Regions from separate parts of the Homo sapiens genome. Here region 1 is linked to region 2. Evidence: promoter capture Hi-C in human tissues and cell types (Jung and others, 2019). All regions are on one chromosome and are shown on one strand. Each heading gives the region's core, a stretch centred on a gene start or on the middle of the fragment in contact. The rest is flanking DNA. Distances are from core to core; before and after follow the strand shown.

The links. The method cuts DNA at HindIII sites, captures the fragments that hold promoters and counts their contacts. A contact is called where the count stands out against the background at its distance.
Region 1: a fragment that was not itself captured here is called in contact with the fragment with the promoter of CASR in region 2 in 1 of the 25 tissues and cell types used here (psoas muscle).

What each region holds. Positions count from the first base shown.
Region 1 is chr3:122,146,350-122,149,084 of GRCh38, reverse strand. No RefSeq gene overlaps it. Among named protein-coding and RNA genes, the nearest start is that of CASR, 36 kb to the left of the region's middle. The HindIII fragment of the contact is 3,748 bases long and covers 1-2,735 here.
Region 2 is chr3:122,182,295-122,185,073 of GRCh38, reverse strand. CASR (calcium sensing receptor) reads right to left here and starts at 1,406. Exons shown (of 7, transcript NM_000388.4): 1 at 1,262-1,406. The HindIII fragment of the contact is 3,508 bases long and covers 202-2,779 here.

The DNA.
Region 1 (2,735 bases), core at 56-2,555, 36 kb after region 2:
ATTAAACAGCCAACCGCTCTGTTCTCTGAAGTTGGGCCCAGGTTCAGCTAGAAGGATTAGCACTGTTTGCTGCAGCCTGGGGAGCACCTCAAGTCAGCCATCTTAGTCAGATTAGTGTTAACATTCTGTGATTAAATAGGGCTATATGCTGAGCCCATTTCCACAGGCCAGAGAGGAAATCAAATTCTCCAGCCTTAGAATAGGGACAGCTTGTGTTGTGCCAGAACCATATTAGACAAAATAAAACAAAATTGTATTTGCTTTTCTGCGAAATGATGCTGCCCTCATATCCACGTGCTGGAAGAAAGATGAGTCTTGTGGCCCTGTGCCCTGGTCAGCCATGTCCACAGGCTGCAGCCAGTGGTCAAGGACAGGACAGGAAATGACCTTAAGATGCCCACCACAGTTTGCTGCTGGAGAGGAGAGCCGCCAGTGTCTTCAGGATATTTAAAGGGGCTGCAATCTTATTAAGCTCCTGTTAATAAGCACAACTTCCTTATTTATTAGGATAAAGTGGCCTGGGATTAGAGAGAGAACCTAGTCTTTAGCACTCAGCAAATAGAAAAATAGAAAAAACATTTTTTTTTTCTGAATTATCCCACAGCTGTGAACCCAGGATTAACTATTTTACTGTCACAGTGTTGACTTCAACTGTGATGTACCAAGCTCATTTCTGACTGTTTATTTCTGTCTCAATTCTTGATTTTTAAAATTGTTGCTAACTGATTATTGAGAAAACCGTAGTTGCAAATATCAAACTTCCTTTCCAAATAGTGGCTTAGGCACATTTGAGAAGAAAAATTCCACCCTCATTTTTCTTTGTGGTAGAAAGCAAATGTCCTTGGATTTTAGAAGATCTGTTGATTGAGTCCATCACATTTTCTAGCCTTTTCTAGGATGAAGCTTACCCTTTCAGGTAGAAAAGCCTGAAGAATGTCTCTCTTCTTCCCTGAGAATCCCTGTTTATTCCTTGTCACAGCCTGGTTTGGGACTGAGTGCGAGTCAGAGTGAGACCTCTTTCACCCCAGGGGCCATGTCCCTGTGAACAGAGTTCCCCTGCAGAGCTTAAATTAGCAGTAAACACTCAGGGAGACAGCCAGAGGTAGTGGCCCTGCAGGCAGGCACCACCCCATCATCGGACAGTTCATGATTTGGCATATTGTGGCTGGGGAGGTGAAGCAGGTAACAGAATAGAAGAGAGAATTTCTGCAGCTCAATTGGGAGAGGCAAAACATGTGAGCTGACTCAGACCATCAGAGCATGGGATAGAGCTCTGGTCAGGAAAGAGAGCTCCAGATTTGAGTGTGGGGCCTGGTGCCAGGTTGGTGGCCTGCTAGGGAAAGCTAATGCCATGCAAACTTGTGTGCTGAGCAGTTGGTAGTGAAGCCTCTACAGCCAGCATGAGTTTTCCTTTTTGCTGAACATGTCTAAGAAAATACTCATAAGTATTACTTAGTACTTATTTATTTATTTAAACAAAGAATATCCAAATTGCTCTCTACCTAGGAAGGTGGAAGGTCAATAGGTCCAGCAAGGAACTTGGGCTAGGTAAATGGAGGAACTTATTTCCTTTCCATTCCTGGAGGCCTTAGCTGAGCTTGGCTGTCTTGGAATGCCTCCAAGTCTGAGGTGGCAATTTGCAGAACATATTGACAGGCTCAGTGCTGAAAAAATTATACATTATAAAATTATAATGCCCATCATGTATTAAGCACTCAAAAAGACTCTAGGAGGCCCATTATTTATTCACATTTTACACGTGAGAAAACTGAGGCAGAGACAATGAGGTAAACCACCTGCCTAACATTATACAGCTGGTGGAGCAGAGAGTTGGCTGTAGATGCCAGGCCTCAAGTGCAAGGAAGACAGTGGGAGGCCCGTTCCTGCCTTTTCAGGGTTTCTTCTAAGATCTTGAAACCCTGAGGGTATAATGGCTGATTTTCCAGATGGCAGTGACAGGGAAAATGTGGATTCATTGGCTCCAATGTTCTATCTTCTGTTTTTTTCATAGTCCAAATATTATAGTTTGGTTCTGTGACAACATCTCCATTGTTACTATGAGGGCCTTTCTCAAGGTATAGAAGGTATTTACACATCACTGTTTCAAACAGTACTCAAAATGCACTTTTATTTAGTTTGCTATCTGATTGTTCATCCAAGCCCAGAGTATTTATCTGGATCAGGTTCATCTGACAACTCCAGAGTGATTTTTCCACCCCTACGTGCTCCAAATCCCTTACGCTAGGAGTTTTATTTTTCTGTCACCTGTTTGTTGGCTCAGTTTTCTCAGAACTTTGTTTCTCAGAGCAAGAGTGACTCATGCTATGCTAAGTCAGCAGAGCAGCAAGAGAGAGGCAGGCATAGTCAAACCTGGAGTCTGGCCCTGTCAGGGAAGATGGCTCTGGGGAAACTGGTGTCAGACAAACAATGTGTGGGGCCCATGGTATGAAAGCCACAGGGATCGGAAAATTAGAATACAGTATGATGCAAGCTGTCATGGAGATCAGCTCAGCACAGTGGAAGTTCCAACACCCACTCTCTCATAGCACCCTATGCTTTTCTTTCTTCATACTTGACAGTATGTGATGAGTATACATGTTTAATGATTTGTTAAATGTATGTTGTTTTCATTAGACTGTGAGCTCAATGAGGGCAAAAATCTTGTCTGCTTTATTCACAGCTGTATAACCAAGGCCTAGCACTGTGCCTGGCATATGATAACTAAAGATTATTAA
Region 2 (2,779 bases), core at 157-2,656:
ATACACATGGAGGCTGGTGCTCAGGCCCCGGGAACTGACAATCTAATTTGATGCCACTGAAGCAAAGTTCCCAAGACAGCTGGTAGCTTGGACCAGGAATCCTGTGGGGGCACTGACGGCCCCTGGGGCCAGAGCTGACTCTGTGGCCCTCCCCTCCATATTCATACACTCTGTAAAAGCTACCTGTCCCCTTGTTAACACGTGGCAAGCGAGTCCTTTCTGACTATATCACAGGCAGAAACAAGGCAGAGGCACAAGAAACTACCAACAGCAGGCGTTTTGGTGCGCGCTCCCGTTCATTCGCGTGGGCGACCCGCTGCCCCTTCTAGGGGCACTGAACAATCCAGTTCTGAGCCGGGGAAAGCCTTGATCCTGTAATCTGGTCCCTACTTTCCCCCACGTTCACGCCCAATGCTCCCAGGCTGGAGCTGCTCCGGCGTGTGCCCCTCGTTCGGCCCGGAGCCCTTGGCCCCCAGACCCCGCCACGGCCCCTCCCCCACCAGGGGCGCTTTCCTCCCGCCCTCCTTGGGTTCCCCGGTCCTACCTGCGCCGCGGCCAGGGCTCCCTCGCACAGAGGCAGCTCCGGCCCCTCGGCCGTGGGTCTCCACGAGGATGAGCTCTGGTCTGATCTCAGGACTGCGCGCAGCCCCGCTCCCTATGCCAAGGTCACGGTCTTGGAGAGGCGCGTCTGGCTCGCTGCGCTCCCGGCGCCCGCCTTCGGGTCCGGCCACAGCAGCCCCCGCAGACCCTCTGGGCGGCCGCTGCGGCCCCGGCCCCGGCCCCGGAGCTCCGCCCCTCTCCTGCTCCCCGCCCGCTTGCCCCCTCGGGGTCCCCAACTGCCGAGCCCAGCTCCCCTCGTAGCCCACTCGCGGGCTGCCTTCTAACCCCTACCCCAGTTAGTCCCGGTTCCTTCACCGTCTCCTTAGCCCGCAGAGAGCTTAGCTGACTCTTCAGGGTCGCTGAGGGCGCGTCTTCGGTTCCCCGAGGGCCACAGGCCGGCTCGGGTCCCCAGCAGACGGCGAGCCCCGCGCTTAGGTCCTCTCCTGCCCTCTCCCGTGCCGAGCCAGGGGTTCCCGGCTCTCAAATCCTGTTCCCGCTGTCCTCTTCCCTGACCCCTACTCCTTGGCGATGGAAAGAAGCTTAGGGCGCTTACGACGCCACCAACGTTCTCTGTGCCGAGGGTGGCACAATTTTTTTTTTTCTGATATAAGGCCAGAGATTCACAGTAAAATAAATACAAATCGCGTGCCCAAACTCTTACTCATTCTGCAAGACTCAGGTCAAGCGTTGCCTGTGCCGCAAGACCTCGGTGCTGGCAAACAGCTCCCTCCTTCCACTCTCCTGCGCGAAAGGGCGTGCGGTCCTTCCTGGCTGCAGCCAGGTGCCTGTTGCACTTGGTCTACTCTACCCGACTCCACAGCGCGCTGCTTGGAGGCCCGGACCTGGCCTTGCTTATCCTTGTCCCTAGCCCCTGGCACGGTGCCTGCCACCCATCACAGCACTAGAATATTTTATGAATAAGTGGAAAATTAATTTCTTTTGTAGAAAACCAGTTTTTTTGTATGTGTTTGTTTGTTTTTGGCTTTTTACTCTCAAATAAAGCATACTCCTTTGGGTGGGCAATTTGCTAGGCTCTATAAAGAAACACCAAAAATATTATCCCCTTTAATGCAGTATTCCACCCTTGCGGAAATTTCCAGAACAAAATAATATTCGTGCGGAGATTTTTTTTTTAGCAGGATCATTTGTTACAGAAAATAATTTTAAAAACCACAAAAAGCAAACAGAGCCAAACTGTCAACAGTAGGAAATTTGTTGAATAAATTAGGGTGACTTAATGGGACATTATACAACCATTAAAATGATAAACATCAAGACAGAAGTGCTTCAAATTCTTTTTAGAATAAGGAGGGAGTATGTATTTATTTATAAAGCAAAAAAAAAATAGGAAAACATGAAGTAACATGATAAAATGTTTGCAAAATACTGTTAAGCAAAAAGCAGAAAATTGGGTCGTTTACCATGTTTAAGAACTTCAAATAAAAATGCAGATTTCTTCTCTGCAAAATGGCGATAACATCTACCTCAGGGGGTCCTTGGAGTGTTAAATGAAATAGTCAAGGAAAGTGCCCTGTATAGAATGGATACTCAACAAAGTTTCCATTTCTTTTCTTCAATGGAACACAGACTCAAATCCAGCATGTCAAACACATCCTCATTATGGCCAAGTTCTGCCCATTTGGCTTCCTTTCCCTCAAATACAGGGTAGGAGAAGGAGCTGAGCAAATGCTAAAGCACCAGTGAAGGGGGCAAAATCTGGTTAATAGGAATAAATGTGAAGTCCTCCCTCAGGCCGAAACACCCAGCAATGTAAGTAATGGAGGATGTGGCTCAGTAGTGGTGCCTATCAAAATACCTTAGATTTTATTTTAGTTGGCTACAAGCACAGCTTTGTGAACACCCAAAGGCTGAACGAGTTCAGTTCAAAACCCGAATGAGGCTGCAATCTTAGGCTGAACTGATGCTCTTCACTGGTCGGATTACACCTGGGCATAATGTCCAAATTTGGGCACTATCTTTAAGAAAGTATTACTCTGAAGATCTATTATTGCTTCCATTTTAAAGACGAAGAAACTGATGCATACAGTTTCAGGTATTTAGGGTTGGGTGGCTAGGAGTTGGCAGAGCCAAGAGCTGAACCTGATCAGCTTGACTTACAGTCCTGGTGCTTGATCACTTTACCAGTGTGTCCCAGTGTGTACATCTTCCAGTAGAGATT